Linked DNA regions of Homo sapiens: region 1 is linked to region 2. Evidence: promoter capture Hi-C in 16 types of primary human blood cells and fetal thymus (Javierre and others, 2016). All regions are on one chromosome and are shown on one strand. The core of a region is centred on a gene start or on the middle of the fragment in contact, and the rest is flanking DNA. Distances in the headings are between cores, read along the strand shown. Region 1 holds the start of LRRC75A (leucine rich repeat containing 75A). Region 2 holds the start of TRPV2 (transient receptor potential cation channel subfamily V member 2).

What was found. Contacts are between HindIII fragments. The CHiCAGO score rates a contact against its expected background, and 5 or more counts as called.
Region 1: a contact is called between the fragment with the promoter of LRRC75A here and the fragment with the promoter of TRPV2 in region 2, in 1 of 17 cell types (neutrophils). The highest score is 5.2, in neutrophils.

Annotation. Positions count from the first base shown.
Region 1 is chr17:16,490,643-16,494,608 of GRCh38, reverse strand. LRRC75A (leucine rich repeat containing 75A) reads left to right here and starts at 2,416. Exons shown (of 4, transcript NM_001113567.3): 1 at 2,416-2,864. The coding sequence starts at 2,619. All of the region lies in intron 2 of LOC124903936 (a long non-coding RNA gene), which reads right to left. RefSeq lists silencers at 2,164-2,503, 2,594-2,643, 2,754-2,813. The HindIII fragment of the contact is 6,898 bases long and covers 1-3,966 here.
Region 2 is chr17:16,413,885-16,417,997 of GRCh38, reverse strand. It overlaps TRPV2 (transient receptor potential cation channel subfamily V member 2), which reads right to left and starts at 2,427. Exons shown (of 15, transcript NM_016113.5): 1 at 2,165-2,427; 2 at 130-436. The coding sequence starts at 329. RefSeq lists enhancers at 697-806, 1,147-1,196, 1,457-1,526, 2,477-2,596 and a silencer at 1,637-1,756. The HindIII fragment of the contact is 16,870 bases long and covers 1-4,113 here.

The DNA of each region.
Region 1 (3,966 bases), core at 1,167-3,666, 77 kb before region 2:
CTCTGCTTGAAGTTTATATATTGACAAAGATTCTTTGCTTGGCCAAACTTTAGTCAGGCTCCCAAACCTTCTCCTAGACCCTCTTTGCACTTCCATGTAAAATCCAGTTTTAGCAAAGACCCTGTTAAGACAGTTTAGCAAGAACCCTCCATCTTGTATATCTGATCATCTTCAATATCTGATTAGGTTTATCATCCCCCACCCTCCCCCAGGTGATCTCTGGTCACCTGGCCTGTCTAAAGCAAGAATTCTGTTAGGTTGGTGTTGTGAGTGCCACAAAGTCAGAAATAATCAGGTTCATGCACATGTGTGTCTTTCTACAACGTCAGGCTTTTATTGATGCTATTTCAGTCATAAAAGCCACAAGCCACATGGGGTTCTCAAGGAGGCAAATTCTCCTTAGTTTTCCCCATTCACTTGGTAATAAGAGCTGTGGGCATACAGGCTCAAGTCACTCCACAAGTCAGTCAATACTGCCAACCATACATGGTAGTATACTTAATCAATATATAAATGTTATAGATTACACATTCCACATCAAAGTACATTTAACATCAAGAGAAAAGGGGATAGGGAAGGAGCGGTTAACAATATAGTCCAAGGAGAGTGACTTGGACAAGGGGAGTCTCCTGGCCTGATCCAAACAGTCCTCAGTGTCTTGCAAGGAAGAGTCTTTGATGTGGGCAGAGTGTGGGCAAGATGGGGTCTATCCAGACGGTCATCTCCAGTTGCTGAAGTCCTGCTCTTTTTATGGCTACAGAATCCTCTGGTGAGGACTGATAGCAAAGAGTGTGCCTGTTTATGTCTTTATCTGGTGGGGTGTAGTCTTTATTGATTAGGCGAACATCTGGTTCCTGTTGGCATGAGGCTTTTTCAAATGTAAAATGGACCCTTTTTCTAAGATGGAGTTACTTATGTCAAGGGTGCTCCATACAACCTGTTTAGCCAGAATCCCCCTCAGCCCTGATGTTTCCCTTATTAAGTTTCTATCCGCTGACCCCCACCCTGCTCCTTAGCAACGAATTCCCACTTGCCCATGCTGTAATTGGAGTTGAGCTCAATCTCTCTCTCCCTGCAACTGCAAAATCTCATAGCAGAGGTCCCTACACCTATGGTAATGGTCCTGAATAAAGTCTTCCTTACGATGCTTTAACTCATGTCATTAAATAATTTTTTCCTTTAGCAGTGTCCACCGAGTTTACTCTCCCAATTCTTGGCAGTGTTATTATCCTAGCCTGACAGGAAGAATCAGGACTCAAGAAGCTGAAGACTCGCCTGATACTCAGTGCTCACTAAGTAGTGGGGCTCAGCTCCCTGTGATTTGGGATCCAGCCTCCTGCCCCTACAGCCCACGTGCCCTTACACCCTCAAGCAACACCCAGAGCTGGGGTCAGAGGCGAGCTTGCACAATTGCTTCTGCCCTGCGCTGGGACCAGGGCGGCCTGTGGTCTGCAACAGAGAAGCTCCCCCACCTGCCTTCGCCTTCACTCTGGCAAGCCCTGGCAACACCATGAGATCCCAGGGCTCTGGTCCCTTACAGACTGGGCCTGGCAGAGGCACGGGGAGGAAGGTGGGCCAGCAGGGTGTACCGCTGGGCCTACTCGCAGACGTGCGTTTGCTTTGTTGTACCAGGACTACCCCAGGGACCCTTCTCCAGGGCTGTGAGAGTGAGAACAAGAGAACACAGGAGTTCACACCTCTCCGGTCCAGATGCTTTGAGAGCATGATGGAAGCAACAGGCCCTCTCCATAGAAGGGCACGCACACAACCCATAAGCTCGCACAGTTTCCAGGTTTACGCACCAACCACACCACTACAGCGCCCTGCAAGCAGGCCAGGTCTCAAAGGAGCGTGCATGGGAATCACCCAACATGCTGGCTAAAAAGGCGGATCCCAGGCCCCACCGAGGAGATTATCATTCAGTAGGTCTCGGTGGAGGCCTTAGAGCCTGCGTTTTTAACCAGCGCCTCCGACGATTTGGGCGCTGAGGCTCAGCGGAACCCACCTTGAGAAACCCGACTCTGGGCCTAAGAGAGCCCCCCAACACACACACCCCCATGCTCCAAACTTTCCCCATCTCGCCCGACGCACCGGGCGCGCGGTGGTGGAAGCGTCGGGGAGCCCGGTGGGGACCGAGAGCGACGGCCCATGGGGCCTGCCTGTTCCCCTCGCCCCCGCGCCACGGCCCCGGGAAGCGCAGCACTGCCGCCCGCAGGAGGCGCGACTGCCGAGAGGACGCAGGCAGGGGGCGCCTGGTGGTGGTCCCCAGCCCGGAGCCGCGGGGCGGGAAGGAGCGGGAGCCCGAGAAGAGGGAGGCGCGCGACGCCGCGGAGCTCCGGCGCGGAGGCGGGGGGCGGGGCGGGCCGAGCCGGGCCGGGGCGGGGCCGGCGGGCGGGCCGGCGGCGAGCGCCCGGGGAGCGCGCCCGGGTAGCCAAGAGGGAGGAGCGCGGGGAGCGCCGACAGCCGCCCGCCCGCCCGCCCCCGCGACGCCCGCGCGCAACAGTTCCCCCAAAGTTGCAGCCCGGGAGGCGAGCGCGCACGGGCGGCCGAGGGGCGGGCGGTTGGCGGGGACGCGGCCTCGCGGCCCAGAGCGGAGAGTCCCGGCGGGCGGCGGCGGCATGGGCACCCGGCAGACCAAGGGCAGCCTGGCGGAGAGAGCCAGCCCCGGCGCCGCGCCGGGCCCCCGACGCGAACGGCCGGACTTCTGGGCGTCGCTGCTGCTGCGCGCCGGGGACAAGGCGGGGCGCGCGGGCGCGGGGATGCCCCCCTACCACCGGCGAGTCGGCATGGTCCAGGAGCTGCTGCGGATGGTGCGCCAGGGCCGGCGGGAGGAGGCGGGGACGCTGCTGCAGCACCTGCGCCAGGTGAGCGCGGGGAGGGGGCGCGGGGGGCGCGCCGGGCCAGGGGGCGTGCTGGGCCGGGGGGGGCGCCCCATCCCTAACCGAGGAAGCCGGGGGCACCGAGGGGCACCGCCCAGGGGCCCCTTCCGCGGGGATGGAGCCCTGTCTGGCAGCAGGTGCCTCGGCGCTTCCGCTGAATGTGGGGCCTCAGGGCAGGGCGGAGGAAGGCTGGCCGGGTGAGGCCCGCCGAAGGGGACCTGTTGGCATAATGTCCCCACTGCTCTCCTCCGCAGGCAGAGAAGGAGGCTGGTCTCCGGGGACAGTCGGTGGGCGGGGAAGCAGGGATGCCTGCCTGATCTGGGCCAGGGCTCTTTTCTTCCTGTCTGCCCACTGGCAGTCACTCCCGGCCGAGGGTCCTCAAGGAATGCGGTTATCAGTTGGACCTGGCTTGGCTTCCCGAGAGCGAGTCCAGGGGCACAGCCCTGGGGCCAATGAGATTCCAGTCCCTAGGTCCTTCACTCGCCTGGGAGGCATCCTGGATTGTAGTTCAAGGAGGAGACTGTTTCCTCTCCCCTGACTAACTTCAGCAGATCCTCAACCATGAGCCCCTGCGGAAAGCGGTAGAGACAGGGGAGCTGGATTTGGTGCCCTGTGTGACCACCTGGCCAGCAGCAACTTCAGGAGACTGCCAGGACTCTGTCCTTAGCCTGTGCCTGTCCCACTGGCTAGGGACAGATGTTGCGGAATTGGCCAGTTCCCTCTGCTTTGGGGCTGCCCTGAGGCTAATGCTATCACTCACCTCTCTGTGGCTTGTTTTCCTTTGTCAGTTTCTTTGGTGGGGAGAGGAGCATGGCCCATGCCATGGATTTTGTTGAGTATAAGACAGGCAGGGGAGTGCAAAGCTGCTCTCCTGCATCACCAAGCAGGTTGTCTTGGCCTGGCTTTGGTGGGTAGACAATCCAGGCCCCATATTCTTGCTAGACTGACCCCATTAGAGGTGGAGTCTACCGTGGATGGCAGAGGGAAAATCTCAGGTGACCTTTCTGGGGTTTTCCAGTCGCTGCTGAAAGAGGCTGTAGGAGCACCTTCTTGGGAGGAGCTTCCAAAATCTAATCAGACCCACATC
Region 2 (4,113 bases), core at 1,178-3,677:
CCAGACTGAGGACTCCACAGGCTGTGGGAAGGGGCACTGGTGCTGGACTAGTCAATGAGTCTCACTCCGGGTGCTCTGCTGGAGCTGGGCAGGGGGCCCCCTTTGCCCTGCCCCCACTTGCTGTCTCACCTGGCACCTGTTCCCTTTCGGTAGTTGAGGTTGACTCTTATCTGAGGGGCGAATTTCCGGTCCTCGCCCTGGAACTGTGACTCCATGGGAGGCAGCCCGCTCCCAAAATCCAGCTTTCCTCTGTCCGCCTCAGAGCCATCTTCTTGGCCTCCATCTAATGTCTCCAACCTGAAAACTGGAGAGCTGGAGGGTGAGGTCATCCTAGGAGGAGGAGGCTGCTCGGTCCAGCCAGGACCTCTGTGCAGATGGAGATGTCAAGGGTCCTGTCTTCCTCCCAGCTGCGCGTCGGTGTTGGCCTGACTGGAGCCTGCAAAAGGAGGTATTAGGTTAGTGCAAAAGGCTGGGCGTGGTGGCTGGGTGTAATCCCAGCACTTTGGGAGGCTGAGGCTGGCTGGTCAGCTGTTAGAGACCAGCCTGACCAACATGGTGAAACCCCATCTCCACTAAAAAAAATACAAAAATTAGCTGGGCATGGTGGCTTGTGCCTGTAATCCCAGCTACTAGGGAGGGTGAGGCAGGAGAATTGCTTAAACCCGGAAGCTAAGATGGCACCACTGCACTCCAGCCTGGGCAACAGAGCAAGACTCTGTCTCAAAAAAAAAAAAAAAAAAAATTGCGGTTTTTGCCATTACTTCTCATTACTTCTAATGGCAAAAATGCCAAGTGCAAGTAGGTCCACCCACTGTGTGGGAGCCCAGCCCCAATGCAGGGGAAGTGGGCCAGGAGGGATGAGCAGCAGGGGTGAGGAGAGGGAGGGAGGCCTGTGGGGTGAGGAACAGGGAACCAATAGGGCCACCCTTTTGATGTTGTCCCCCAGGAAGAGCCATGACTGTCCCCGACTTTTCCTCTGGGACTTCCTGGAATCTGAGGGGTCACAACCCCTGTTACCATTTACATTAACAGCACAACCCTTTCTTTACACAACGTCTTGCCTGGCAGCCAATATTCCAACAGATAAAAGTGCGATGACTGGGATGGGGCCAGTCACTCAACCCCTCGCCAAAGAAGGGGAGCTCTAAGAAGAAATAACTGGGAAAACCACTAGACTATCAAACCCTTCATTTTGCTGCCAAGACTACTAAGGCTTAGAAAGGGGGAGTGGCTTTCCCAAGGTCGCCAGTTGTTGGCAGAGCCGGATCTGACACCATGCGTCTACCATGACGTTCCTCTTCCGTTTTCAAAGCCTTTCAGGGTCTGTCTATATTTTCAGTCTGATTCAGCTCTGAAGGCATCGAATACTACCTTTGTGTGCCTCAGGGCCTCTGGGGGCTTCACGAAGGGAGGGAGGCCCCTAGCCTGTGGCCCAGGCTCTCTCCACCACGCTGCCTCAGGCCCTAGGCTGGCCTAGGAAGCTCAGCAAACAGCACAATCTCACCCTCACAGGAAAACTGAAACCACAGCCTCCATCACTTGGCAAGGGTGGGGCCTCGGTCAGGGTTGGGGAACCCTCATGGGCCCAGTGAGCAGGATCAGAAAGAAGAAGGAGTCAAAGAGTGGTAAGGAGACAGAAGGGTGGAGAAGGGGGCAGGGGGCAGGGGGCAGAGAGCAGAGAGGAGCGGCACCAGCAGAGGGAAGTGGAGAGGGTAGGCTGGGACCAGGCCCTGGGGACCCGGGTGGGGTATTTTCCCATGGAAACATGGGAGGTGGGGAGCTGCCTGGCTGCCTCAGTTTGCAGATGTGACCCACCACCCTTTCTACACACACTGGGGCAGAAGGGTGCTCTTTCCGTTTCATACCGTTTAGCCCATCTGTGTCCCCAACCAAACCCTGGCCCATTCCTCCAGCCCTAGACTCCCAAGCCCCAGCAGCAACAGTTGTCTGTCCAGCCCCCACCCCACCTCCTGGGACCCTCACCCACCCTGGCAGCAGAGGAAGGGGTGTGGAGGTCCAGGGAGAGGGTGCTGGAGCCCCACACAGACCCTGGCTCCAGGCTGTAGAAGCCAGGAGCCCACTAGGCCTTCCCCACCCCATCATTCACTGTCAGGCTTGGAGACCCGGCCCCCTCCAACGTCCCCAGCATTGCCCACCGACTTACCCCGCAGGCTGAGGCCAGGGCGTGGCGGCTGCTGGGATCCCGGAGCTTCTCAGTAGCAGGGGCTGCGGGAGGAAGTGAAGCCGGGAGGGGCTGCCGGCGCTGACAGCAGAGGAGCGGCGGAACCTCCCTCCCCAGCTCTGAGCACTAAGCTCCAGCAAGCAGGTTCTGGTCTCTCGGTCACCCTCAGCCCACCTGGCCAGCCGGCACGGTGGAGAACGGGAGCTTAACTCTCCCCTGTCAGGACAGGCTAGCCACCAGAGACTGACCATCTGGACACACCCTGCTGCGAATCAGGCTCCACCCCCACCCCTCCCCCTTCTAGCCACTAAGGTCTCAGGTGGGGGTGGGTGACACTCAGAGGCAGCCCTTGGATGCTGGGGACTTGCCACCCATGGAAGCTGCCATGGATGGGGGATTCTTCCCCAAGTCCACTGACAGCTATCTCCTCCCCTTCTCCACCACATGCCTTCCAAGCAGCCGTGTGGCCCATAAATGGGCCTGAGTTGACCCATGGCAGGGGAGAAAGCTGATGTGGACAGCCCCCAGGGAGAGGCTCAGCCCAGCAGATGCCCCTGGGAACACAGTCCCACCCACCCATCCACCCAGCAGTTGGGGGACTTTCCCACCTCCCAGGACCTTCTCCCAGCCTCCTGACCCCAGGACTCTGATGGCTAAAGTTCCCCTAAAGGTGCTCCAAGCACCAGCCAGCAGGTGGAGACAAGGAGGTGGGCACGCACTGCTAAAATCAGACCTCACCACCAACGGGGCCCTGGTCTGGACTCAGTCTTGGAGCTTGGGGACCCAACCACCACCGAAGTAGCCCTAGGAATCTCTCTCCCTCACTCCCAAAACCTGGCATCAGCTCTTCCTCCAAAATTTGTCTTTCTGAGTGGTCCAAGCCACTATCACTGCTCCCCTGGGCAACTGCAGCCACCTCCAAACTGGTCTCCCTGCTTCATTCTTGCCCCACACTCATAATCCATTTCTCCTTATAGCAACTGAAGTGACCTTTTAAAAATGGGAACCAGGGCCGGGCGCAGTGGCTCACACCTGTAATCCCAGCACTTTGGGAGGCCGAGGTGCATGGATCACTTGAGGTCAGGAGTTCAAGACCAGCCTGGCTAACATGGCAAAACCCCATCTCTACTAAAAATACAAATATTAGCTGGATATGGTGGTGGGCACCTGTAATCTCAGCTACTTGGGAGGCTGACGCAGGAGAATCGCTTGAACCTGGGAGGCGGAAGTTGCAGTGAGCTGAGATTGTGCCACTGCACACCAGCCTGGACAACAGAGCGAGACTCTGTGTCAAAAAAGAAAAAAAAAGAAAACCAGGTCACCTAACGCCTTGACTTAATCACAAAACCTCACCCATGGTGCTTGGAATAAAATGCAAACTCCATACCATGAGCCCTCAAAGTCCAGATGCCCTTCTCCATCGCTATCCGTCACTCATGGCAACCCTGTCATGCACATTACACTCTAGGCCTGCGCCATCCAATAAGATAGTCACTAGCCACAATGACTGTTTAGATTTAAATCAATTATAATAGGCCTCACGCTTGTAATCCCAGCACTTTGGGAAGCTGAGGTGGGTGGATCACCTGAGGTCAGGAGTTCCAGACCTGCCTGACCAACATAGTGAAACCCCATCTCTACTAAAAATACAAAATTAGTCCAGGCGCGGTGGCTCATACCTGTAATCCCAGCACTTTGGGAAGCCAAGGTAGGTGGATCACTTGAGGTGAGGAATTCGAGACCAGCCTGGCCAATATGGCAAAACCCCATTTCTCCTAAAAATAAAAAAAAATAGCCAGGCGTAGTGGCACGTGCCTGTAATCCCAGCTACTTGGGAGGCTGAGGCAGGAGAATCGCTTAAACCTGGGAGGCAGAGCTTGCAGTGAGCCAAGATTGTGCCATTGCACTCCAGCCTGGACAACAAGAGGGAA